Linked DNA regions of Homo sapiens: regions 2, 3, 4 and 5 are each linked to region 1. The links are contacts of gene promoters, found by promoter capture Hi-C in blood cells and fetal thymus (Javierre and others, 2016). All regions are on one chromosome and are shown on one strand. Each heading gives the region's core, a stretch centred on a gene start or on the middle of the fragment in contact. The rest is flanking DNA. Distances are from core to core; before and after follow the strand shown.

Evidence for each region. The method cuts DNA at HindIII sites, captures the fragments that hold promoters and counts their contacts. A CHiCAGO score of 5 or more calls a contact.
Region 2: a contact is called between a fragment that was not itself captured here and the fragment with the promoter of SCAF8 in region 1, in 1 of 17 cell types (neutrophils). The highest score is 5.0, in neutrophils.
Region 3: a fragment that was not itself captured here is called in contact with the fragment with the promoter of SCAF8 in region 1 in 1 of 17 cell types (fetal thymus); the score reaches 7.6 in fetal thymus.
Region 4: a fragment that was not itself captured here is called in contact with the fragment with the promoter of SCAF8 in region 1 in 1 of 17 cell types (neutrophils); the score reaches 5.5 in neutrophils.
Region 5: a contact is called between a fragment that was not itself captured here and the fragment with the promoter of SCAF8 in region 1, in 1 of 17 cell types (neutrophils). The highest score is 5.7, in neutrophils.

Annotation. Positions count from the first base shown.
Region 1 is chr6:154,731,192-154,736,858 of GRCh38, reverse strand. SCAF8 (SR-related CTD associated factor 8) reads right to left here and starts at 3,443. Exons shown (of 20, transcript NM_014892.5): 1 at 2,929-3,443. The coding sequence starts at 2,958. RefSeq lists silencers at 2,671-3,270, 3,421-3,540, 3,571-3,810 and an enhancer at 2,907-3,410. The HindIII fragment of the contact is 14,602 bases long and covers 1-5,641 here.
Region 2 is chr6:156,769,203-156,774,360 of GRCh38, reverse strand. No RefSeq gene overlaps it. Among named protein-coding and RNA genes, the nearest start is that of ARID1B, 5.6 kb to the left of the region's middle. RefSeq lists a silencer at 552-846. The HindIII fragment of the contact is 3,243 bases long and covers 133-3,375 here.
Region 3 is chr6:157,377,089-157,382,800 of GRCh38, reverse strand. It overlaps LOC124901446, which reads left to right and starts at 1,710. Exons shown (of 1, transcript XM_047419644.1): 1 at 1,710-3,487. The coding sequence starts at 2,100. The coding sequence ends at 2,990. ZDHHC14 (zDHHC palmitoyltransferase 14) reads right to left here and starts at 1,611. Exons shown (of 9, transcript NM_024630.3): 1 at 535-1,611. The coding sequence starts at 779. RefSeq lists enhancers at 554-693, 1,452-2,063, 2,675-3,287 and silencers at 784-833, 1,344-2,233, 2,394-2,473. The HindIII fragment of the contact is 1,650 bases long and covers 3,322-4,971 here.
Region 4 is chr6:156,787,717-156,793,189 of GRCh38, reverse strand. All of the region lies in intron 1 of ARID1B (AT-rich interaction domain 1B), which reads right to left. Among named protein-coding and RNA genes, the nearest start is that of MIR4466, 11 kb to the right of the region's middle. The HindIII fragment of the contact is 1,669 bases long and covers 1,479-3,147 here.
Region 5 is chr6:157,033,322-157,038,996 of GRCh38, reverse strand. All of the region lies in intron 4 of ARID1B (AT-rich interaction domain 1B), which reads right to left. Among named protein-coding and RNA genes, the nearest start is that of MIR4466, 260 kb to the right of the region's middle. The HindIII fragment of the contact is 2,707 bases long and covers 142-2,848 here.

The sequences.
Region 1 (5,667 bases), core at 2,194-4,693:
AATAAATAAGGAAGTTACAAGACTTAAGTTCTTTGAAATCCATATGGGGAAATGGGAGAGTGCTACATACACTAAAATGGGACTAAGACAAACCTCAAGTTCCTGTAAAATGAGAAAACAGGTGAAACACCTATCTACACATGTAAATGTTAGGCCCCCTTATCCTTAATTAATATTAAAACGAAAAACTGGAATTAACATTTCTTCCCTACTGTGACCAACCATAGTGCACTAACCACTTGTTTACATCTAATATTTGGGAGCTACTGTTTAAAACGTCATGGATGGGCCAGGCGCAGTGGCTCACGCCTGTAATCCCAGCACTTTGGGAGGCCGAGCCGGGTGGATCACCTGAGGTCAGGAGTTCGAGACCAGCCTGGCCAACGTGATGAAACCCCATCTCTACTAAAAATACAAAAAACTAGCTGGGCATGGCGGTGGGTGCCTGTAATCCCAGCTACTCCGGAGGCTGAAGCAGGAGAATTGCTTGAACCCAGGAGGTGGAGGTTGCATTGAGCCAAGATCTCGCCATTGCACTCCAGCCTGGGCAACAAGAGCAAAACTCCGTCTCCAAAAAAAAAAAAAAAAAAAAAGTCTTGGATGGCCCTTTGAGGGGGAGGACCACATTATTAGGAACCCCCCCAAAGACAGACACCCAACAAAGTGTGTGTGGGGAAGAGGGTGGCGGCGGGAATTAAATCCAATGAGGGCAAAAAACAAAACAAAACGAAATCCCCCAGGCGTGGTGGCTCACATCTGTCATCCCAGCACTTGGGATGCCAAGGTGAAAGGACCGCTTGGGCCCAGGAGTTCAAGAACAGCCTGGGCAACATAACAAGACCTCCTCTCTATAAAAAATAAAAATGACGGGCATGGTGACACTGGCCTGTAATCTCACCTACTTGGGGGGCTGAGGTGAGAGGAGGACCCCTTGGGCCCGGGAGGCAAAGGATGCAGTGAGCCAAGATCACACCACTGCACTCCAGCCTGGGTGACAGAATGACACTCCTCAAAAAAAGAAAGATAGCTATGAAAAAAAATGAAACACCAGGCGCAGTGGCACACGCCCATAATCTCAGCACTTTGGGAGGCCAAGGCGGGTGGATCACTTGAGGTCAGGAGTTTGAGAACAGCCTGGCCAACATGGTGAAACCCCATCTCTACTAAAAATACAAAAATTAGCGGGGCGTGGTGATGTGCGCCTGTAATCCCAGCTACTCGGGACACTGAGGCAGAAGAATCGCTTGAAACCGGGAGGTGGAGGCTACAGTGAGCTGAGATGGTGACACTCCAGCCTGGGTAACAAGAGCGAAACTCTGTCTCAAAAAAAAAAAAAAAAGAAGATTCCCAAGTCTATTGCTCTAATTTATCAATGTTAAAAATAAAAAATGTAGTATTAAAAAAGAAAATGCTTTCCAAAAAAAGTTATGTATCACTGCTATTGAAAATAGCCCAAATATTATCTACCGTTTAGCCTCTTAGCTAAGATTCCCAAATACTGTTTTTCTTTTTAAAGAAATTAAAACAAGATAAAACTATGCAACGGCATTTAAAAGTACTGTCCTATTTGGGCCGTCACAGCAAAAAGCCTCGTATTTTAAGAGGTAAATATTAAAGATACTCTTTAACAATCATAGTATCGAATAAAGTATTGGCACTTTAAGAGTTCATAAAATTTATGCTAATTTAGTTACCAGCATAATTACACTTTTTCTTTTTCTTTTTTTTTTTTTTGTAGACAGAGTCTCACTCTGTCACTGGGCTGGATTGCAGTGGCGCAGATCTCGGCTCACTGCAACCTCCGCTTCCCAGGTTCAAGCGATTCTCCTGCCTCAGCCTCCTAAGTAGCTGGGATTACAGGTGCCTGCCACTACGCCCAGCTAATTTTTTGTATTTTTAGTAGAGACAGGGTTTCACCACGTTGGCCAGGCTGGTCTTGAACTCCTGACCTCGTGATTGGCCCGCCTCGGCCTCCCAAAGTGCTGGGATTACAGGCCTGAGCCACTGTTCCCGGCCATAATTACACTTTCCAAGGCGTACGGGTAGGGATACTAATGCTGACTGTGCAGATGTGTACTTGCTATGTTTGATGTTTACATTAAGGCCTATTGAAGTCGGAGTTTAAAAAGAAATTGAATACATCAAAACCTGTCTTCTTCCAGACTAGTAAATTCAACTACACAGTGAAAATGGAATCTGCTTTTTAAAATCTTGTTTGACACGTGAATGAACCAGCGAGAAATGTTTCCCCCATAATCTTCCATCTCTCGATGCACAGATCTCTCCCTACCATTTGTCTTTATGTCGTGATGGATTAGAAGAGGAGCGAGTAAAAATAAAAGATATTGCAGAATAACCTTTGCCTGCCTACCAACCATCCAATTAGCTCAAGTCCCTAGCTGGCAAATTACCTAGTCAACAATGCCTCAATTATAAACACTACGTGTAACGTGACCACAGATCAACACCCCGTAGGTTCATTTCCCCCACCGCCCCCAATCGGTGTTAGCCTCAGTGAGGACCCGGGAAGGTCTGGAGAGTCATGTCCAGCGTCCACTTAAATCCTCAAAGGCCCAGGAAGGAGGTGGGCGGGCCAGGCCTCGGCGGAACTGACCTCGAGGGACCTGTCGGGAGTCTCCGGGTGAGGGCCCAACCGGGTCTTTCCCTCCGAGCTCGCAGCCATTCCATAGGACGCCGGAGACGCCAGAACCTCCCTCCGCCCCAGGGCGGCCCTCCCCCAACCCTCCTCCCGGACCCGGGGGAGGGGCACCCAGAGGAGAAACACCCCTCCCCCACGGGCACTGCTAGGCCACCGCTCACCCCACCCTTAAAAAACCCGCAGGCCCGCGCCCACCCTCCGGGCCCCGGCCTCGACCAGGGGTGGGGGCGGTGCGGGCAGGAGCAGGGGAACCCGGCTGCCATACCAACCTCGCTATTGAAGGTCTTCACGGCCTCCATGTTGTCGCTGCGGAGGCCCCGAGCCCGGCGGCGGAAGAGGCGGCGGCCACTGCACTGGGTGGGGAGAGCGAGACGCGGGCTGCTGCGTGGCCGCGAGGAGGGGGCGCTGGCGGGAGAGCGGGCCGCTGCGACCTCGGGGCGGAGTGGAAGGGCACGCGCTGGCGGGGAAGGGCTCCCTCAGCGGCAGAGCGGCACCGGCATGGCCGCTAGGGCGGGGGGAGCGCCGTTCTAGGGAACAGAGGCGCTGCCGGGGCGGGTCGGCGGCGGGCGGGGGAGGGGCTGGGCCGCGGCGCCTTCTCTTCTCTGCCCCGCTCCGTTTCGGTCCCCCTCCCTCTAGCCCCTTCCCCTACACTCTCCACTCCCTTCTGCCCCTTCCTCCGACGGGCTCCTGTTTCACCTCCCCGCCGCTCGGGCCGCAGGAACCAGCCCCGCTCGGCGAAGACAGAGGAGGAAGCGCTGGCAGCAGCGGCTGCGGCATCCAATATGGCGGACTCGAGTCGGGCCGCGCAGTTCGGGGATCCGCGGCGCCGGCTAGCGCGCCCCCTGGCGACTGGACCGTGCGAGCCCCGGCGGCCGCGCGGAAACCATCGAGCGCGCTGGGGCCAGAGCGTCGCCGCCCGTAGGCCCGGCTGGGCTCCGCTGCCCTCGCCTTGGCTCCGGGGCCGCCCGCGCCTCGCCCCCTCCCCGCGCCCCGCGGACGCGGGAGTGAGCGCTGCGGCATCCGGGGGAACGCCGCGGCGGGTTTGTACAGCAGGAGGAGGCAACTCCAAAGCGCGGCTCTAATAAGAGCCTAAACGTGCCCAAGAAGCGGCAAGTTGAGGAAATGTGCGCGTTTCCCTTGTTTCCCGGTGGATTGGTCCTTTTGCACAAGCGGCAGGGTTTAGTTGCTTTTCACAACTTTACTGGACAGTGCCCTAAACATCCGCAGCCTTCGCCAAGAAAAAGTTCCTGGTCATCTATTTAGTAACTGAACTCAATTGTTTTAACTGCACAGGGAGGGAACATTAGAAACCAAAGCCTTGGATTCGGGTTGGGGCAGGCGGCGAGGGAAACAGGCATGCAGCAGCTCCTTGCAGGAAATGCCCGCTGCATAGGATCCAGGGACTGGAGTGGCACAATGAGCGCATTTGTCTGCAAGGCGGGAAGGGGACCCTAGAATGCACAACACTTGAATAGGTGAAAAGGGAACCCGTCTGTTTCGGAAGATGAATTGTTCTAAAGGAATTTTGCCCTAGGATACTTGGAGTAAAGGTAAATACAGTATTTCTTAGATGGATTAGGAGATGCTGCTAGTAAAAAGCCTTCTCTCTCGTGCAGCGCAAAATAAGGTACCAATTTAAAAATACTTATCGATGTTAAAAGATAGGGATGTATCGTGGAACCCCGAACACTGCTGTCCTCTTGTTGAAAGTCATTTTTCAACAATCATTCCCAAATTCACTCAAAGGGAGAGAGGAACATAAGGGCAGGATCGTACTTTTGGAGAGTTTTGGAATCAAGGTAGTTCCTAAGAGCTGTGCGCAGAGCCCCGTGAAACTGGGAAAGTAAGGCCCTTCTTGAGGTTTCAGAGCCTTCATTCTACTTCATTGGCAGCTTTAGTATAGGGCCTGGCTACTGAGAAGGTAACAGGGATAACTCACCAAGTGCTTTTATATTTACTTTCAAAATCTCAAATTCTGTCACAGATTTCTCCACCGTCTCCCATCTTCAGGCCTAGCCATGATCTTTTACTGACACTTGCAGTAGCCTCCTAACTGGTCCCTTGCTTGTCTTCCTACAGTTCATTTCCAGACAGTAGCCGAGGGATGTTTTTCTTAGATAAATCAGATCAGGTCACTCCCTTACTTAAATCCCTTAAATACTTTCTCATTGCCCATTTGATACCATCATAACTTCTCACCATGGCCTGAAGGCCCAGCCCAGCCTGCCGCAGCTCACACCACCTTCCCTTGCTCCCTGACTCTCCTCCTGCCACACTGGCCTTTCTGTTACTTGACAAGAAGCAGTGTTTTCATAGGTAGGACAATTGTGTCTCTTCACACAGGGTGCTGTTGCTCTTGTCCTTTCCATAGCTGACTCCTCCTCCTTCAATCTTCCTGAAAGAGGTCCCCTAATCACTCCATCTAAAGGAGCATTTACTGTGGCTTGAGAAAGTACTGCACTCAGTTCTGTGCATGCCAGGTTCTCACAATCAGAAGTCACTGCTTTGAGGCCGGGTGTGGTGGCTCTCGCCTGTAATCCGAGCACTTTGGGAGACCGAGGCGGGTGGATCACCTGAGGTTAGGAGTTCGAGACCAGCCTGGCCAACATGGTGAAATCCCGTCTGTACTAAAAATACAAAAAAAGTAGCCAGGCGTGGTGGCACGCCCTTGTAGTCCCAGCTACTCGGGAGGCCGAGGCAGGAGATTCGCTTGAACCCGGGAGGCGGAGGTTGCAGCGTGCCGAGATCGCGTGACTGCACTCCAGCCGGGGCAACAAGAGTGAAGCTCTGTCTCAAAAAGAGAAACAAAAAAGAAAAGAACGGAAAAAAAAGGCGCTGCTTTGGCCTGTGAGGGATTATTTATTAGGTCATACATGAAATGAGTGTTGATGGAATTACTTAGGCCTGAGAAATTAAAATGCAATACAAGCTAAAGGATAAAATCAGTGGTTAACATGCTTCACAATTTGATTTAATAAAGCTTCCGCATTCAGAATGGTAACAGAGGG
Region 2 (5,158 bases), core at 505-3,004, 2.0 Mb before region 1:
TTTATTCGATGACTGAAACTATCACGATTCACTGCCCATCATATTTCTAACTATTCTTTATGTAATTTGGAAGCAATTTAGAATAAAGCCCTGTCAAGGTTTTACAAATAAGAACTATTAAAGAATAAAGCTTTGGATACTTGCTTTCCTTTTAGATTTATGAGAAATGCGATGAATAGAGCTAATGGGATTTCCCTACTGATCTTGGTCAGGGACTTAAGAAAGCACGAAACAATTGTCCTTTTCACTTCTCCGATTTAGACGTTAGCAGTGAATAACTGCGTCACTGCAAGATATGGGATGTAGCATTTGATTTGAAACAACTGTGCAAATCAATTAGGTAGGATTTGAAAAAAAAAAAGAAGCCTAGGCAAAAAAAATAGTTCAAATTTGGGAACTATGGCAGACGGTAGCACTAATAAACTTACTAAGAAAATTATTGTGGGGATAATAAACCTGGATGGAGATACACTGCATGTAGTCATTCAACAAATTTACCTAGAGTCTACCTTGTGCCATGCCTTGAAAATGAAAGATAATTACCTTGGTCCTGTCCTTCATAGGGGAGATAAACAATTAACAATCACTCATACCTACTAAGGTCTGCCCCTCAATGTCACATGGGATTTGGCCAGTAAAGAAGCAAGCTCAGACCTTCCCCATCCCGCAGCATTTCCTGCAGCGGAGGCTTGCTGGCTGCCATTAGCGGGCAGCTGACCCTAATCCTCCCGCTGACACAACTCCGACTTGACACCTGGAACCCACCACTGTGGAGTCTGGACTTCCAGAACCTTAAGTTTAACATCAGGCTACTACAGTTTCTCTCCAAATTCCTTAGAAACATAGTAACACCAGTGAAATACATTAAGAAACACCTTACTACATTTTAATACATTGTACTTTTTATTTTATCCTGGACTGTCCGCTTTTGAATGACTTTATCACAGCCTCATTTATAAATTTCTTGTAACTTTTAGACAAATGTGTGTTCAATGGCTGCTTTTATTTCCAGTACTGTCCTCAATCATTTTGCCATTAGTGAAAATCACTTACTGAGCACCTACCAGTGTTTTTCAGTATTCTACATCACATCATGTAGTCATCTTTGTGGCCGTTCTTAGTGATAACATGCTGCCTGGCTGGCTAAAGGTCCTGCATAGGTAACTCCACTCTAGTTCCTCAAAATAAATATTTGGGTAGTAAGCATATATAATCAGGTATACAAATAAGTCACTTGGCAGTTGAATCACCTCAGTTTTCTAGAAAAGTTTCAGGAACTTACCTGAAGGCCTTCTAGGTCTCTCACAGATAATGATTAATTGCTTTATAGTACAGGTAAACTTTGAGAATAAGACTATGTTTCAAAAACAGTAAGTCCCAAATAACAATAACTCGTGCATTAATGGAGCGCATTCCTCGTTTTTAGTTCACCTTGCTTATACCTGATGACTTGGTTTCTAATTCATTATGCGAGTCAGTGAGCACCTTTAAGGGTTTATGACAGTCATCTAATTGTCTTGGTCAGGGCCAAAGGACTTGGTTATATGCTTTTCATACCAAAATGACATAATTTCATTGAGGAATCTGCTTATTAACCCATTCCCCTAAAAATGCCCAAGTTAAATATAAAGAATTTTTTTCTCTCTCTAACTTGAAGTTACATTGCAACATGTAACTCTAAGACTTAAATTTCAGTGAGCTCTCCCTGGCATCTTCTTGGGCCCTCAGGTGACACCTGTGTCAAGCTGTACTCTGTGTAGTATAGGTGACCCTCTTTCTCAAGGACCGGACATGCCAAAAGGTTTCCCTGCCAAAGCATAACCCACAAGGAGCATCTGGGAAGGGGACTCCTTGCCTCAACCCCAATTATTCATTTGACAAGGAACTGTCTATCACCTACTCTGCCCTAGCCCTGTGCTAGGTGCTGTGGGCACTGGAGTGAACAACAAAAACTAATAACACTTGACCACATTGAATGTACCGGATCATTCATTGAATGATCACTAATGGAGAGTTACAAAGCAATGGGTTCTGAAGGAAAGGTACAGGGTTCTATGAGGGAAATAGCCAAGGAGCCTGATGCAGACTGGGGGCTGAGGGACAGCTTCCCTGAGGAAATGTGACTTGGGCTGAACACTAAAGAAAGAGGAGAAAACATTAAATAAAGAAGGGAAAGAGTGCCGCAGACGGCAGGAGGCAAGTGGGACTGGAGAGCAGGGTGAGGGCAGGCATGCTGGGAGACAGGGACCACCATGCTTGTCCCAGGCCCAATTAAATCAGGGCTTGTGACCCAAAAGCAGTGGGAAGTAACCAGGGCATTGAAGCAGGGGGCTGACATCAGATCTGGGTTATAGCAAGAAACCACTGCTAGGAAGACAGCATGTTGGCAGTGCGGCCAGAGCTGGAATCGGGCGGCAGGTCCCGGGAGTCGGGGCTCAAACCTCTGGGACCAGGGCGGCCTGGCCACTCTCATTTATTGCGGCTCTGAGGATATTATGATATTTTTTAAAACCATAAAAGAGGAGCATACAAATGTTTATTTTAATGTTTACATTTTTAAATTCCTAATGTACAGACTCAAGAATACAATGCTATACAAATATGCCTTTTGCAGAATAAATCTTAAGATTTATTTATTTTTTAATTCATAGGGCAGTGTGAGCTGATCATAGATCCCAACCTAAAAAGCAAAAAACATGAAGAACATCTTTTAATCTAGTTGTTGTTATCTCTAGGACTAAATGTATAACTGTACCTGGCAACAACACCGCGTCTAAATGTAGGCCTCTTTATAAATGGCTCTCCTAATTATCTGTGATGATTGCGCATAGCCCAAGTGAGAAAAGAGAGATGGTGGAGTTGTATGGGGACCAGAGGGACTATGGGGATAGAGATAAGTGAACTGACCCCACAGAGTCCACTACTTCAGAATGTGCAGATTGCTCACTGCTCAAGGCCAAGGAGGTGGGTGGGGGCTCTGATTCAGCCAGGGCCTTGCATGCTACTCATTGAGTCCTGGCACAGAGCTGAGTCCACTGGAGAATGGGGTGTCTTTTTCTAACTTACACAAAGCTCCATGTATGCTAGCAGTGGCCTCCATGAGAGAGACAGTGAGGAGGTAACACTGAAGAATGAGGTCGTAGATTAGATAAGGAGGTGAGAGGATGGCAGGGCCGAGGCCTTCTCTTTCCTCTTTTTCCTCTCCACCCTTTCCTGCCCAAACCATATTGGCATGAAGCAACTGGAGATTCCAGCTTTTATCCCTGCCGTCCAGACCATTCCACACTACCCATCAGTCCTACCCAGCTTGCTCTCCCAGCCCTGCTCTGATAAGCCAACCCTGCTCACCATAGAAACTTAGCTCTAAAGAAAGCTTCAGGCTGGGCATGGTGGCTCATGCCTATAATCCCAGAACTTTGGGAGGCCAAGGCAGGCGAATAGCTTGAGCCCAGGAGTTCGAGACCAGCCTGGCCAACATGGTGAAATCTCATCTCTATAAAAAAAAAAAAAAATTAGCTAGGTACAGTCACATGTGCCTGTAGTCCTAGCTACTTGGGAGGCTGAGCTGGGAGAATCACCTGAGCCTAGGAAGTCGAGGCTGCAGTGAGCTGTGATCAGACCACTGCACTCCAGCCTGGGCCTCAGAGTGAGAACTTGTCTCAAAAGAAAAAGCAAGCTTCAAGGTTTAAGAGGCGGAGGACAACTCCTCAACTCCACACAGTGGGAACATTCTGTAGCCTGAGCATCTTCTCTGTTATCTAGGAATTTGTGAGATTGAGATGATCCATGGAAAACCTTTCAAAATAAATGGACCAAATTCAAGACACCTAACCATGAGTTACAACCAACCCTTTCTCAGGGCCACCTGCTTGCACAGCATGAGGGGCGTCTTGCTTGTTGTCACTGATACAGAGGATGTCTTGTCCAATGTGACTGGCATGTCCTGGGTTTTTCCCATTTGCCAGAGACCTGAGCTGTCATTCACAGGTGCTGAGAGGGAGCAGGAGAGGCAAGCAGAAGCTGAAATGCCCAGGCCTGGGCAGCGTCCTTGCTTTGCATCATGACTTGGCTGCTTCCTGCCACCTTCACACAGGTGTGAAACCTTAGGGCAAACCACCTCGAATCTCTGGAAAAGGTAAAGGAGAAGCTGGCCCAAGCGGGGATGGGGATGCCCCCGGCCTGCGGTACACCCTCCCTTGTTCTCATTCACTTACCTGTTTAGGGATAGTGCACAAGCGTAAAAAAGAGAAAACCTCAGACACAAAGAGTTGTATTTAATCAATGAACCAAACCACCTCTAGGCTGCATTGAGCTTTGTAACTGTTATTACATACCACTTAGTATGTTTATCCCGTGTCTGGCACTTTGCATACATACGGCAGAGAAGCAAGTTGCCTAACTAACCCAATATCTGTTCTTCCCACCTTTAGTTACAGAAGCCCCAGTGTTTAGCTGGGCACATGACCACCTGTTTAAAAAAATCGACATTTTGCATATTCCCTTGGAAGTCAGTACGTCCACACGCTCAAGCGGAGCTGCTCAGGGCAGCTCAGCTGCTGTCTACCTCCTGACTTCGTGTATGAGAAATAAGAATAAACTTCTGTCTTGTTTAAGCTTCTGGTATTTTTTGCTTTGTTTTGGTCTTTTTTCCCCCTTTTTCTTTCTTTTTTTTTTTTTTTTTGTAGAAAATCACATGTAAACCCAACTGATATAATGCATTATGGTTTCTCACATAATCCTCACAACAACCCTTTGAAGAGTTTGTAAACATCCCAAACCTTGGTTTACTCCTGTATAACACACAGATCGCAGTAGTGCTTACTTCCCCAGGTTTCTGAGGATTCAGTGAAATAAGGTCTTCAAAGCTCTGAGCACAGCACCTGGCACACCAGAAGTGTTTGATAACTGTACTTTATTAAGGTAATTTTCATCTCCCTAGCTGGATGGATCAATTTCTCAAGGACAAAGTCCCTGTCTTCAATTTCTGTTATATTGTCTACCACACTCAGAACATTCCTGAACCCACAGTGGGGGCTCAATTGTCAACATAATTTTATGGCTGAATCCAAACATGCAAATAAAATTATTACATGCATTTTCAAATTAATTGTTTCTTTCAGAGCAGAGAACTGATGTAGCTAAAGCAGCAATGACTATG
Region 3 (5,712 bases), core at 2,897-5,396, 2.6 Mb before region 1:
CAGCCGACACTTTGAAACCTGAAATAGCCAAGATTCCTCAATTATTCGTCGAAGTTACATGGGAGATTCAGTCAACTGAGCTTAAGAAGATGCCCTATATGTTGTCAGCAAGGGGGAAAAAGTCAGTTCCATGTATCCCTGACTTAGGAATCTATCGCACCCCACCTTCCCACGGCAGGCTACATCTGGGCTGATTTGCTGGGTCCCCAAACTCGGTAGAGAGCGCCCCAAGGATCAGGGACCGGCGGCCCCACCTGCTGGGTCCCATCCGCCACCTGGATTGGCAAGGCCTGGCCCCCCTTGCAAGTGGACCCCTTCCCTCCCTGCTCCCAGAAGCCCAGCCCAGAACGGCGTTCTTTCCGGGGGCCCAAAAGCAATCAGACCTTTAAAAGAAAAAAGAGGGAGCGCAGACTGGCATTATATAACAATTTACAGTAGATAAGACTTCTAGAAAACGAAAGCAGCCCGAGGAGGGGCGGGGGACAGGGGAGACCAGGGGAGTGCGGCGTCGGGGGAGCGGTCGCCACCACTTACTCGAAGGCGAAGAAGAGTCCGCTAGTGACCAGGATGAGGACGAGCGTCAGGTAGAAGACGCCCGTCTGCCGGGCCATCATGATCCTCCCGTTACAGAAGAACTTGTTTCTTCCCGGGAACACCTCCCATTTCCTCCGGGCCGCGATTTTCTTCTTCTTGTGGGGCGACTCCATGGGGGAGGAGCTGTGGGTGCTGATCTGGCTGTACTCGCAGTCTTTCATGGGCCCGCCGCCGCCGGGAGGCATCCACGAGGGCAGCCGGCTGGGGGCGCACACCCCCAGGAGCCCCCCGGCCGCGCGGGCCCCGCCGAGCCACGACCGCCGCCGGCCGCCCGGCCGCCCCCCGAGCCGCGGCGCCGCGGCCCCTACACGGGCTCCCGGCTCGGCGACAACTTTGCCGAGGACACCCAGGTTAACCCTCCGGGGAGCCCAACTGTCATAGCAGAATCCCCGCTCCGTGAGGGGACGGCGCTGGTCCGCAGCCCGCGGCAGCACTCCTCCGTCGCTTCCAGCCCGCGTCCCGGGGCGCGGGGCTCAGCCCGGCCGGCCCCCGGGTCGCCGAGCGCCCGCCCCCTCGCGCGGCTGCCCGCTCGGCCCCGCAGCCCCCGGCTCCCCGGCCGCGCCTCGGCTCTGGCCCGCCGACCCCCGAGCACTGCGCCCCGAGGGGACACGAGGCGGCGGCCCCGGCGCCGGCTTCCTCGGGAGCCACTTCTGCGGCGCGGCCAGGTTGGGTCCACTCCTTCCTCCGGCAGCGGATCCTCCCAGGAGAGAGCGCTGGCGACTGGGCGGCCGCGCGCGGCACCGGCAACCCCTCCCAGGGGTGGGGACAACCACGCACGTTTTTCTGTCAGGAGCCTCTCGGCGAGAGCCGGGGCGCCGCTCGCACCGCGACCCGGTGTCGCTGCGCCTGGCAGCCTAGTCGAATCCGCGGCCCCCGCGCGGGGATGCGCGGGCCGAGGGCGGCGGCGGCTCGCGGGCCGCGCGGCGAGGGCTCCCTTGCTCCCTCCTACCCGGAGGAAGCGGCCCCGGCGCGAGGAGGGCCGCGGGGACACAGCACAGACACTTGTTTGCAAGGCTCAGCCCGGCGCGCGCGCGGCGCTCCGAGTGGGTCCGCCTCCTCCGGGCCGGGTGGGCGGTGGCCTCGCGCCTCACCCGCGGCTCCTCCTCCTGCTCCTCCTCCTCCTCGCCCGCGAAGCCAGGGCACCGGCGCAGCGAGATTCCAGCCCCAGCCCCCTCGGGCGGGCGCCCTGGGGTGTGGAAGGCGCGGGGCTCCCTGTGGCATCGCCCAAGTAGGGATGGGGTCGGGCGCCCGCGGCCCCGCCGCGCAGTGCGCTCCTGGCCGACTTCAGTCCGTCTCGCGGCTTCTTCCGGGTTTATCCCGCGCAGCAGCTGCCGCCTCGGGACACGCTCATTCCCACGGCCACCGGCAAGCCACTCCTGGCGACTCCCCGGGACCTGAGGAGCCGCGGCGCGGAGGTGACCCTCCCCGGCCTGCGCCTCCCTTCTTCCTCCTCCCCAGCTGGGCGCGTGGTCGCGTCGCCCGGGGACTCTGGTGATGCCCGAGAAATGGGCTGGGGGTGCCGGGTGCCAGGATGGGGTGGGGCGGCCCTAGGCCGGCCTGACTTCGGGACCGGGCTGCGGGCGAGGGTCTCGGGGCCCGGCTCGGCCGGCTTCCGGGCCGAGAAAGAAGGGCAGAGGAAGCGGTCAGGGTCCCCTCCGGCCCCGGCCTCCCTCCCGGAGTATAAGCCCTTGGAGGCCAGGTTTTGGGTTGCTGCCGCCCAGCTCTTTCGGTCTCCACTTCTCCCCACGGACGTTTACAGCTGCTCGCTTTATTTCTCCCTCCATTCCCCCGTGGAGCCCCCTCGGCAGCGGAGGGGTCGCGTGCTTCTCCTCTCCCGCCTGCGCCTCCCCCCTTCCCACCCGACAGCCCAGGAGGAGCTGCGGGCGCGGCCCTGGGACGGCCGGAGCCTGGGGCTTCTGCTCGCTCGCGCCCTCCCAGGCGTTGCCGCGGGTCCGAGCCCCCGCAGAGGTGGGCATAGCCCCGGGGCCGCAGAAAACGAAGGCAGCTGGGCAGGGATGCTCAATTTCCCGAGCCCCACTTTCCTTTCACAGCCCACTGGGATGTGTAGTTCTTCCGCCCGCAGGCCTGCGCCGAGGAGAAGCACGACTCGGGGCCTTAGAAACTACAAGTCCCTGCATCCCCCGCGACAAGGGCAGGAGAGGCGTGGTGCTGGGCGTTCTGGGGCTAGGTGGTGGGAGATGGGAACCAACAAAGGGGGTTGTGGGGAACGGTGCCTTCTCTGTACTGGGCAGTTTGCACGTTACACATGTTCTTTGTCTAATCTTCGCCGGAACCCGGTGAGGCATTATTGTATCCAGCTTAGAGAAAGCTTAACTACTGGCCAAACATCACAAAGCTCCCAAGTAGTAGAGATGGCATCGAACCCAGAGCCCTAAGTATGTCCCTTACAAAGCGTGCCTCAGTGAGGAGTGTCGAAGGGGGATGAGATTGGCTTATCCAAGAGGGCCAGTTGGGAGGAGCTGTGGTAAGGAAAAAGTGATGGGAATAGCAATTAGAGTATGACATGCAATTACAAGGAGTTTTGAATACAAGTGAAATTTACAGGGGTCCATTCCAAAGCCGGTTAGAGTCTAGGGAGAATGGATCTTAAGCACACGATAATAATTGGGTTTTAATTATTTTAGATATTGTATGAGAGACAAGCATATTACAGGGACAATTAAGTATTTGTGGCTGGACTAGTTTTAAAAAACCAACTGGAAAGCTTCATACATTTCAAGTGAAAGCTCTCATATGCTTTCCTGTCCTTTAGCTAATGAGATCAACGGGGTATTATTCTTATTCTGTTTATTGCAAGCACCTTTTCTGTGGGTGTCCAATTAATATAATAGATCCATTGATTTGATGGCATTAAAAAAGACTCCCACTCTTATTCTCAATGAAACCGAATTTTTCTGGCATTATGGTTATGCTTTTAAAAAGTCCTTCCTTGTCTGTTAGAGATATGTACTAAAGTATCTGCCAGCGAAATAATATAAAGTCTGAAATGTGCTTTAAAACACACCAGCCCATCCACTCCCCTCCTCCCACCCACCCAGCTCCAGACATGGAGGTATAAATGAAACAATTGGAAACTGTTGAAAATAGTTGACCTTGGGTGACATGTACTTGTACTTAATTATTTATTGCTGCAAATTGCCACAAACGTAGTGGCCTTAAAACAAGACAGATTTTTCTCACAGTTTTTATGGATCAGGTGTCCAGGTACACTCAGTCCCCCACTTAGGGTCTCACGCCTGCCATCAAGGGGCTGGCCAGGCTGCGTTCACATTCACTGGAGAAGAACTGGCTTCCACTCTGACTCCGGGCACAGGCAAAATTCCTTTCCTTGCAGCAGTAGGACCGAGGGCCCTGGCTTCTTGCTGGCTGGAGACTGGAGACTGTCCTCAGCTCCAAGAGGGAACCTGCAATTCCTAGAGGTTACCTGGACTTCATTGTCACTTGGGCTTTCCGAGCACAGCCACTTATTTTGTCAGGCCTGCAAGGAGAGTCCCCAGAGTGAGTCTCCAGCAAGACAGAATTTTATATAACATAAAGCAATCCCACGGGGGCAACTTCAAATGTGAACATTCTGTTGGCCAGAAAGCATGTTTTGCACACACTCAAAGGGAGAGGAGTACACAGGGCATGAACCCTAGGGTGAGGGACACCCCGGAGTGCATCCACCACAGTGTACATGAGAGTCCATTATGCTTTTCTTACCTACCACATCTACTCATGTTTATGTTTGACATTTTCCATAATAAAAAGAAATGAATTCGTTTTAAAATGTTACCTAAAGTTTCCACAGCAAATAAGATATGCTGATATGATTTCTAAATAGCTGATACAATTGTCTGTAGTTGTCTTCCAGGGGATAACTTTTTTCTTCCCACTCCATGTGTACTAAGACCTCTGCGGTTAATTCACTTGTATGGGTTACCCTCCCCTAAGAGCGTTCACTAGAACCTGGTGTGTGATAGCTGCAGAGTTCACCTCACCAGCTACAGTTGATCTTGAACAATATGGGTTTGAACAGCGTGGATGCCCTTAGACACGGATTTTTTTCAACCAAATGCAGATGGAAAATACAGCATCCGTGGGATGGGAAATGCGAGTATTCAGAGGGCAAAGGCCCACTCTTCCTATATGCAGGTTCTGTGGAGCCTGTTTAAGGACCTGAATATGTGCAGATTCAGGTATACGCAGGTGATCCTGGAACCAATCTCCTGAGGATACTGAGGGATGACTGTAAAACCTACTGTATAAGGGATGGTAGAGTTTATTCATTTATTTTACAGTTATCTATTTCAGGGCCTAGATTGTGCTAAGTACTGTTTTAGCAGCAGTGATACAAAAAGATCCAAGATAGAAGCTTATATTTGGGGACTGGGGGAGAGGTGGAGAGAATAAACAAATAAATAAATGACTAGTAAGACAATTTCAGAGAGTAATTACAAGAACGAAAAAACAAAGCAGGGTTATGGGATGGAGAGACTGGGGTCGGGCAGAGAATCGAATGATGGGAAGGGGCAAGTACCAAGTCCTCAAGGCAGAACAACCTGGAAAATTCTAGGGGTACAAAGAAAAACCAGTCTGGCTGGAGTGGAGCGAGGGCCAGGGAGAGAGGGAAAAAGGAACAGGAATTCATTCTGTGTGCACCAGCATCAATTCTGTATGCCACACTCTGTACCCACCATCGGTGTAAGTGTTGAGGGGTCTGAAAGAAAAATCACCGTCCTTGCCCTCCAGGAATGTATAGATTCCAAACTTTAATGCTAGAGGGACGTCAGCGTATCTAGAATTAGAGACCAAAACTTGTATTTCTCAAACAAGGACACTGAAAAGTCAAAAGACCTGCTAAAAATTCCTTGAGAATGCCTCGCCAATAACAAATAATCCAAAAATGAGTCTTGAATTGAATTGAAAGAGTGCATGATCTACTTTTGCTAAATGGGGTTTAGCCTAATACTGCCTCTTTACATATTTTAAGTTTGGCCTAAAGGTTTCTCTGTACACTGAACTGTAGCCTAAATGGAAGTGTAAACAGAGTGTGATCTACTCGGGTGTCAATTACTGAGTTTTGGCCACTCAATTGTGGCCAGCTGTTCAAACCAT
Region 4 (5,473 bases), core at 1,064-3,563, 2.1 Mb before region 1:
ATCACAGAATTCCCTTTTGCCTTCTCAGGTGCCAGCCATGCCTCATGCCCCCACCCCGGTATTAATCTGATATTAGGGCTGTGCTGGCTGCTGCATCTTCCCAGGTAGGCATAAAGATGCTGTCATCACTGGATTAGCGCTCCTTATGCCTGCCATGCGAACTGCAGTCCACGAAAGCCCCCACATTCTACAAGACTGTGATAAGATACTTCCCCCAATTTTTTTTTCATTGTCCTCATTTAAAAAGAAACAAGTCATCCTCGGATAAAAGGATAATTCTGCTTCCCCCATAGTCTATCGTATCCATTAAGCACATTCCCTACACAGACATCCTAAGGACTAAACCTATTTTACACCCACGGAAAGAGCCAGGTATCTATGACAGCTCCCACAGCGCCTGTAACGGATGCTCTGACCCACGATATTTCATAAACCCTAATGTACACAGGAAAAGCTCAGCTTTGAAAGCTATACAAAAGCACTCATAAATTTCAGACTGCCCTAAGCACCCCTCCTTTTGCTAAGACACTAGCTGGAGTACCACTTCAGACCCATTATTCTTATAACGACAACCTTCCTTATGCATCTCGTCCTATCAGCCTACTCAAGCACCATGACTATTATTTATACTGAATTTTACACTAACTGCAAGTATGTTTATTAACAAGGCAAAGATAAATGTTCTTTAAAACTAGCTTTGTCTAATAAAAATCCAAAAATGTGCTATTAATTACTTTTATTCATCATTACACTATGATGAGTCTCACTATGTTGCCCAGGCTGGTCTTGGACTCCTGGCCTCAAGCACTTCTCCTACCTCAGCTTCCCAAAGAGCTAGGATTACAGGTGTTGAACCACTGGGTCCGGCCTTGCATGGTTTTTTAAAAAGGGGGGGCTGCATAGGACTGATACTTGGGGAAACATGAAATCAGCTTGTCATTCTAGTCAGGAGTGATTGGCAAAACTCTTATGGATATGCTGCTTCTCATTCTTGCCTCTCAAATAAAGAAATGTAGGTTTAGAGAAAGACTTAGAAGAGCCATAAATAACAGTGCTATAATAAAAATACTCAGCTATTACAAAGCTAATAACTCTCATATGAGTAAAGTTCTAAGTATCAATTCATTTCAAAATTCCAGATACAGGTCATACATTCATCTCTCCTTTTTTTTAAAGATTTCTGCTTTTGAAAGACTCATCTAAATTGTCCACTATGTCAAAAGTATTTAATTCCTAGCATTAGGAAATAAACAAAAATTCAAAGATTTCAAAAATATAGTTTGGAAAGGAAGAGAAAGAGGAGAGTCAAAACGAATTAGCAATGCCCATAATAACAATGTCCTTTTTTAAAAGGACACGGTTCCAGAATTCCTACATTTATCTCTCTATCTCCATCTGTCAGTTGCTCTTCGGATCCTGCACATCAGCACATTGTGAACAGACGGTGGGTATTTTCACCCTGGACCAGGTAGAAAGCTTGCCTGCCTGTACACGCTGACTGCCTCCCTGTGTTATCTGTCCGTGTTCCGTTTGAATCCAATTTCCTTGCATTACCTCTGCCCAGGTCAGGGATGAATGGCCGTCAAATTCCCAGTGGAATAAAAAGAAAAACCCTTTTCTTCCTGAGGCAGCAAGTTTCAATTCACAGAGCACATGGCTAATCTACATATGTGAAGGTCACGGCACTTCAGTCAAAGAGGTTAAGAATGGAACAGCTCACGTAAGGGGTTGTCTTAAACATCTTGGCATGATGCCCAACAAGTGAGACTGTTGAAAAGCAATAGATAGCTCTGGCAGCAGCAAGGGGAAAAATATTTTGATCATGTGATGCCATACACATTACCTCGTTTATTTCATGTGTGAAAGTTTGAGAGTCCCTGAAAAATACCACATATGCAAATCAAATCCAGATTTCAGCTTTACCAGTTTAGCCATGCTAGTACACCTTCCTCTTCATAAAATACATTTATATGGAATTTGTGGATGCACCAAGAATAAAACTTCAACATATTGACAGCCAGCTGGCTCAAATATCTTAACAGCTGATTACAACTTCTTTGCATTAGTTTTTCCATGAAGCATGAAACTACTTAGACTGGGAAAGGGTATTTAGACTAAAAAAGCATATTCTTTTAAGTTATCCAAATATAACTGTCTTAAATAAAATTCATCTTCTCCATCTTTCTCTATTCTTCTCTTTCTCACTAATAATATAGCAATATGGAAAATTACAGAAACTTAATGCATAATAAAAGATAAAACACAAAACTGCTTACCTTTCAATTTCCCTCTTCAGTAATTAATTGTAGAATAAAACACTGGTGCTTCTAAGTGCTTGTGTCTCCGACCAATATCAGAGTGGAGGAGGAAGGACAGAGTCTTGCCATATACAATAGACATGGGTGAAAGAGGAAAAGTCAGGATTGCAGAGGGCATGTCTCTGCCTCCTGTATGCATGGCGCCTTCCTGAAATGCGTTCTGCATCAGCCAATTCAGGTTAAAGGCAGTTGGCACTAAGATGGGGGGAAAGGGATGATTTCCACACCCAGCAAAGTCATAAAAAGTATGACTGTAATTTTTAAAATTTTCCAACAGTCAACAATAATAAATACTTGTTTAATACATGAAGAAAATAAAGTAGAAGCAAAAGATCCATTTTACCAATTTGGAAATTGTCTGCCAGACACCCATTTCCTTCAACTCAAAATTCAGATTGCTTATGAGGCCAGAGTTATTGTCTGTATTTCTAATTAAATGGAATACTAAGTAAAATTTAAACACCCCACAAACTATCTTAATTAATTTAATCACCACTGTTTACTCAGTAATCTAAGGACATCACTCTATGCTCAACAATTAATACAATGTTTAACAATTTACAAATATTTTCTGGATATCTACTTCTGTGGTACAGTGCCCCTACACCAACGTCACTAAATGTTTACTGATGGTAGGAAAATTAAATTCTTCAATTATAAATCTTCTGAATTTATTTCCTCACCAGTTAAAAATATGACTGCTTAAAAAACAGGCAAACTACAGTAAACATTTTAGAATTGCTCAATAACTTACTTTTCCTAACACTGGACAAGGTAAAAACATATCAGGAAATTTGAAAACTGCCATGGTATGGATTAGAACTAAGCTTCAAATATAAACCTATTTGCTCTGAAAGACCGATAGGCTGCTAAGTAACTTGTTAAATTAACTAATAGAGAATTGCCTCTAACTCATTTTAATTCCTTATTCATGAGAAAATACAATCCTTTGTTACTCTATTAAAAGGTCCTTTTCATTGCCAAGCAGCATACACGTTTCTTATAAAGTTTAGTCCTCATGAAAATTCCATGAGTTAAGTATCCTTTCCCATTCTTTGACAAATGAGGAAACCACACAGCACAGAGAAGCGAAGTGACTTGCCTGAGGTCACACAGCTAGTAAATGCATAATCTTCCAGTGCTCTCTAACCTGCCAGCTTTTGGCTCTAGCCCTTGCCCCAAGCCCCATGCCTCTTTACCTTCACTGTTTGTTTCTCATTAACCAAGTCTTAGCTCATCAGACCTCCTTTGCTGTAGGAGCCTTCCTGCCTCAACTCCACCCCAACCTAATCTATATAAAGTGACCCTCTAACATCAAAACTTCTTTCACAAAATCCTTTACACCTTACTGTGTAGCATGTTTACTTGTCCTTAATTCCTGCATTGTCCATTTGTGGAGGTCACCAAAGAATCCCATCACCCAGCATGATGCCTGGCACACAGTGAGCTCTTCACAAACATGTGCCTTCTGCCCACATTATTGCTGTGATGACACGAATCTATAGTTCCAAAGCCCTGACGCACACAGTTCAATACAGTGAAGTAAATGAACTGAGTATTAAATCCTTCATGTTACTGATGTGAAGGCTTTTCTTTAGCAGAAAAATCACCATATGAATGACACCCAATACAAAATCCAAATTAGGATCACTTTCTCATCAACGTCACAGCACCAAAGAACAATCTCCAAGTACACTGACCTTCCACATAGAATAGCAAATACTGACCAAACGGATTTCCTTGCAACTGATATTGGAAATGAATAATACATTCGTTAGGAAAGTTTCAGCTTGGATACATCATTTACTCCATAAATACTTCTTAGATGGTGCACTTTGAGGAATATAGTCTTTTTGCATAAGAACTACAGAAGAAAACTGTAGCCATTCACTTTAATTTCCACTTTGTAAAACACCAGGAGTCTATGATAATACACCTGGGAAAATTAAGGATCATATGTCATCTTTACTCTGTGTATCTTAAGCACCAAGTGGTGCTCAGTAAGTATTTGTTCATAATAGAATTACATTTTGTCCCTGATAGTTTTATAAATCTCAGCATTTAAAAAAAATTGCTCTTTATATATTTGAGGGAGGACCCCGGTACTCTTAGATTTGACATTCCTGTTTTGACTATTTAAGAGCAGCCCTAACCCTCCATGCATAGTAAATTATAATTTTGCTAAGGATCAAGTCTAAATCATATATTCAGTGAAGATGAAGCAAACACAGAAGCAAGTTACTTAGCTAATGAGAGACCAAAGTCTAGCACCCAAAATCTCCAAGAAGCCTACTTTTAAATTTTTGCAACTTCGTTCCTTTGCAAAAAGTAATTCTCCTAAAAAGCCAGTCATTTTTTGCAGATCATCAAAGTGGGAAGGTTTAGGAAGTATAACAGAGGAATGATTGTTGGCCAGAGAAGAGACCACTAATTAATATTAGGGATGGGATATTGAATGGGGTAGCAGCTTGGGGCCAATGGCATCAGCCGTAGGCTCTGTGGGTAAACCAAAACCAATTTATACAACTGCTGAGCAAGAGTCCCAATCAGTACAAAACCACATTCTGTAAGGGAAACTACAGTGGAATGCAAAAATCTATGTATTTGCACAGGTCTCAGTTTATATTCACAGAATATGTCTGGGATCTAGTGTGGTTTAATAAGCTGTTCAGCGGTGCATAGCTGATTAGGCACTATTTGTTTAAAAATTCAAAGCAGCACAGATTTTTGGAGCTGGGAGGGGCTGAGCATCACCTAATTGATGCCAGCAAGGGCTTGTCCTGAGTCAGCCACACCCCGAAGTACAGCAGGACCAGGCAGAGAATGAGAAAACAAGCCCCACATGGGAAGGCAGGTAGGCAGAGAAGAGAGGGGCCACATACAGATGCCACAGATAGACATCCATGACCTCAGTGAAGGTTTTCAACAACCCTGCCCAGCAGCCAACATTCCAGGTAAGGAAACTGACCCCCTGCTGGAGTGCAGAGAAAATGGGTGCTGAGGCCTCCAAATGAGCTAAGGTCTGACCAGCTCCAAGCCCATGATCTTACCATTGTGTCAGGATGCCTCATCATAGAAGCTTATTCGCTCACAAATCCTCAGAATCACCAAAATAAACTAATACACAGCAAACATGCCAGTCCCCTCGGAATTAT
Region 5 (5,675 bases), core at 246-2,745, 2.3 Mb before region 1:
GGGACGTTGAGGCTGCAATGAGCCATGATCGCGCCGCTGCACTCCAGCCTGGGCAACAGAGTGAGACCCAGTCTCAAAAAAAAAAAAGTTAAGGCTACAAAAGGAACCTGTTAGGTTGGCCACAGAACAAACACGGAAGCTTCACACAGCAGGGCAGACTATGAGAGCTGCTGGCTACACTAATCTTCTATAACGTTGCTGCATACTCAGTAAGTATGAAGGATTATGAAAATGAGCTCCTAAGAACTGACCCTACAGGTCTATTAAAAATGCAATGAATATTCCACATGTATGCTGGGCATTAAATAAAAAATGAAAAATTCACAAGACAACCATATGTTAAATACTGTAAATAATACTGAATTAGGTTCTATTTAGAATAATTTCTTTTAGTAATTTTTGGCAGATACAGAAACATAAAAAATTTATTAGGGTTATAAACTTGAGTTGTATCAAGTATTTATAAAGTATTAATTTAATTTTCTTCATATATTTATGAATGTAAAATTGTGCTACATTTGTAACCTCAGAAACTTTGCTTTTGGTAGCATTACAGTGTCATCTTACCTGTCATTACTGTACAACTGGTAGACTGTGCTTTTGAAATGTCAAGCATATAGGATAAAAAAATGGTAAAATATATATATGTATATATAAATAATCCAACTTGGTTTCAAGCCAAAGATGTAGCACATGGAGGAGTCACGTGAGGGTCATCACCAATACCTGGTGTTCTGTAATAGTTTCTACCAACCTTCCTATCCTCCCAAACTGACTTCCGAAGTAACTGATGGCACCTACCCTATACTTCTACACCTCTATATGAAAATGAAATCAGAGTTCTCTAATAAGTGTCTCCTAATTTACTCAAAATTTAACAAATTTAAAAATTATCACCAAATATGTACAAAAGGCAAATGCCTCCCAATTTACTCAAAATTTAACAAATTTAAAAATTATCAGGAAATATGTACAAAAGGCAAGTAATTTGATCGACAATTCAGGTCTGGAAGATTATAATTTTTAAAAATCTGTAATTCTTCCTCTTGTGTTCTCTATCTCAGGGTGACACCATATTGTCCCTGGACTCATCTTGAGCTCCTCTTTTCCTACTCTGCATACCCCAGCAGGCACCAGACCCTGCACACTGCGGTTGCCAGTCCTCTGCCCTCTGACACTGCTTCTACTATGCCAGCTCAGGCCTGTGTTCACTTTTACTGGGTCTATTCAACTGCTTTTGACTGGTCTCTGGTTAATCCGTCCTCCAAAAAGTGGCCAAAGTCATCTGTCTAAATTGCAAATCTGACCACTACCTGGCTTAAAATCTTTTAATAGCTTACCATTTTTTATAGGAGAAAGTTATCTTTAACCTCTCCAGTCTCAGATCTTGCCACACAGACAGAAACTTAACTACTTTTAGCTTCCTCAGATATTTTTCATGGTGGCTGTTCTACCCGAAAATAGCTCTCATTTCTCCTGCCCTCCTTTCTTGCCTCAGTATAACCTAAGCCCTCAAAACTCAGCCCAGGGATCCACCTCCTAGAAAGCCTTCCCATTCTCCACTCCACCCGACTCGCAGCCTCTGGCATGTTTCTTGCATGGATACAGCTACCCTGTGGGATGATTTATCTGCTTATAGGCTTAGATCTGTCAGCTGGTCATGAGGTCCTCACGGGAAGGAGCTGGGTTTTCAATCCGGTTGTAACTGGACGGTAGGGGTTCTGTCTGAAGCGGGGACGTTTAATAAATCAATGAATAACACTGGAGCTATGAACTAAATACAGCACTCTGATAACATCTTACATTTCAGTAGCCCCAAACTGGGGCAAAATTTAAGCAAATCTTGTGCTATGCCGAATTGAAATTTAAAAGTCAATTACTGCTAAACGAAACTCTTGTTTTCCTGTATTGTTTCTTTCTACACAACAAAGAAGGTAATGAAAATACTACCACAGTCTAATCTTAATCACAATAAGAGAAATCTTAAACTTGTGAAGATTTTTAAACCTCAGTGTTTTGATTATGATTAAAAAAAAAATAAGTCCCCTCTGTTGAACCTTCAAATCCACCTAGGAGGAACTGACAAAAACCTCCACAATGAACTACACCAGACTACACACCTTGAGTCCAAAGGCTGCATCCTCCGAGGCCAAGACTTCAACCTGAAATCATAAGGAAAAACATAATTTAGGCACTATCAAAAACCTCTTTGAGTCTAGCCACAGAAACCAGACACAGGCATGGCCTAGAATTGAGAGTTCTGAGAAAACTGGCATTCCATTTATGTCAGTTGTCAAGAAAGAGAGATCTGTGAGTATCTTCAAGAGCTGGGCTGAAATCCCAGTCACCGTCTGGGTTTCAGTTCTATAAGACGGCGGGAGCTCCTATCAAATGAATCCATCTGCCATCATGTGGACGTAGTGGTTGAAGTTCCTCAAAAACAATCCAGGGAGTGAGTAGAATCATCCTTCTCACCTAAATCACAACATGTTGCATATGCCTTTTGGTCTTTTACTGACAGACAGTGAGGGGAAGCTGCCCTTTGTAGAGCAATCTCACTATGCATGTGTGCTACCAGTAGATTCTTGTCCTGCTCAGATCAGAGTGGGCAGCGCTGGATCTCTGGAATGTTGCAGAGCAAGAGTTCCTGAAAGCAATACTCTGGAAAAGGCAGGCAGTGTCTAAGCAACAAGTTGTGAAATGATGGCAAAACTTCAAGACTGCCTGTCAGTCTCATGCATAGAAGACAGAGCTCATTAACATGAATTTTAAAAAGCTGCGAGGAACAAAACGTGTATTGATAATTACTGTTTTTTAAACATAATTATTCAGTGTCGTGTGTAAAGCTTTTAACTTTGACTATTGCAAAGTACCAATACACGATGGAAAAGAACAAGGAAAGAAGGCAACAGAACACATCTGAGTATTTTTAAAGAGGAAGACGGGGTGGGTGGGCAATATCAGACTGTAACAGGCTTCACTGTCAGTTTTAAACCTTTTAAAACTAGGCATGTGTGGCAGGTGTTTAAGTAGAAGGCACATAGGCCTATCTAATGTATCCTGCTATAAAACAAAATTGTATTCTTCCCTTGTGGACAGAAAATATAGAAAGGAAGGCCATGACAATAAGACTTTCATCCAGTATGAAAGTTAAAAGGGTCAAAAGAAGAAACAAGGAAGCAAATTGTCTTCTCCAACTGCTTCACTGAAAGCCAGGCTCACTGACCACCCCCTGGCACTGGCAGAGCCTGGTGCGGAAAGCAAAAGAAAGATACTACCATTAGGGATGGAGATGAGCAGCCTCGTTTTCATAGAAAACCATATGTTGCTGATACCAAATATGATTTTAGGCTAAAGACTGAAATGTTGGATCAATTATAGTAGAAAAAATCATTGTAAGTTTCACTGACAGCATTTCTGTTTACATTTTAATTTCCAAGGCTGTTAGATTTAGAAACAAGGCCTTATTATAGACTTTTCATTTAAGAAAAGGAAAAAAGATTACATGTTTGAATTTCCCAAGCCCTGACTTTCACAATGCTAGGTTACTAACCTCAACTATTTTTTAAATTAAAACCTCTAATCAACATTGGAGACTTTAAAGGAAAAACGCGAACAGGAAATATGCTGAATCTTAAATACTGTGAACATCGTATGACATTTGCTTGTGAATTACACATATAGATCATATCTGCATACCTCACCCTTGATGTGCTATTTTTAACACAAATAGAATTATTTTTAAAATATATTACAGTTTAACTTTGCAAGAAAAAATCTTCAGTGAGTTCTGCATATTTTATCATATTATAAAAAGTCAATGTAACAAGAAAATTCAATAGCAAATAGAGCTCTATTTAAAGATAAGGCTTTAATATATTTGACAACTTGAGGTGAGAGCAAATCAAAGCTTTCGTGTGAAATTTAGAACTCTCCCTGTGGCTATTTCAGCAGACAGAGACAGTGACAGACCTTGTGGGTGGGAGGAGGGAGTCAGATCCCACCAGGGCACCCTTCACCCCAGATTCTATCTCCAGGAGGGCTGGGGGAATTGTTTTGAAACTCTTAATATACCTTTAAACGAATTTAATTACAGCAACTCTACAAAAGTATTTATGTTTTGTTCAAAAGCACTATTGTTTACATATATATGTACCCTAGTTCAAGTATCCTTTACATCCTCTATTTCTGTAAGATTTTAATATCAGCAACTACAGAAAATCAGCTGATTTTAAAAACATGAGGTTATCCTCAATTTAATACAAAGGGAATATCAATGTCACACAAGGTTTTCACGCTGAGTCTAAGAGCATTTTTACCTAAGTTGGAAGGAATCCCCCTCTAGTGGGAGCAAAGGAGTATTTCAACTTTCACACTTAATTTCCAGGTAGTAGTCATTAAACTTACCGGCCGAAATCAGCTAAGCTTTTTTGTTCCTTTTGTCATAAATTTGAACAACAATAACAGAAAAGTCAATAACTATATTTCATAAGACAAAACCACCCATCATTCTTATACATAAATTAGAAGTAGATCTGTGTTAATCCGATTAAAACAAGAATATACAACTGAAAAATTTGGGAAATTCTCAATGGAAAGACTGGATACTGTACTGGGAAGACACAGCATTGATGCTAAAATACTAATTCTTTGCCTATAATCTGCATTTATCTGCTCTAATCTCAAAAAGACCATCACTCATTCATAATAAATACTGTGCAGATATTTATTAAATGCAATGTTTTGTGCCTAATGTCATAAGAAAATGAGTTTAGCTTAGGTATAAATATCTAAGTGAAATGTATTTAAGTATCCATTATACAGTCAAAAATAAATTCTAATTCATAAATGAAAAGATAAGATTATTCATTGTGTTATTTTTCTTTTTAACTTTGATGTGGGGAGACTTAAAAATTAGCAGTAAGAAAAAAAAAGTCACAGGTTTAATCAAATGTAAAATTAGGACATAATAGCCAACGTTCTCCTCCTCCACACAGACACTGTAACAAATACAGAGACAAATTTGAATACTCTGATGAGACCCATGTTTCACTTCAATGGGAGAGAGAACTTTTCAAGGGTTCCTGAAGTACAGAGGTGTGAAGGGGCAGGTTTAGGATAACAAAGTAGAAACTTCCTAAAGGCAAAGACAAGGCCCTTTCCATTAACTCACACTTATTTCAAATGTTACAATCAACATTTTATAACACAAGTGCCTAAAAGGATTCCATTTGTAGAGAACCTCTAAGAGCTCTGTGAAAGTTCAGTCTGTAAAGTTCAGCAGCAGCTAAGCCATTTACAGTCCTCACTCTCCTAAAGCACAAAAACCTTCAATTGACATCTCTTTCCCAATTACCCTACGGCCCACCTCCACCAAAAATAACACAAATCACCTTAATTTCCAATCATTCCAGTAAGAAAATTGGGAAAACAAGAATTCCTGAATTTGGAAGTAAAACTGGCCGTACTTTCCTTTCTCTTTCACTTTCAACGTCCTTTTTATGTTCACAATGTAAAGCACTCATTGAAAACAGAGTATACTAATTCTAGCAGCATTATCGTCAAAATAAAGCAATGCCAAAACTATGCTGCAATTTATTTTTTTAAATAGTTCTAAAATCAGTATCACACTGTCACAAAAAGAGGAACTAAAGTGAGAAATAATGCTCATTTAT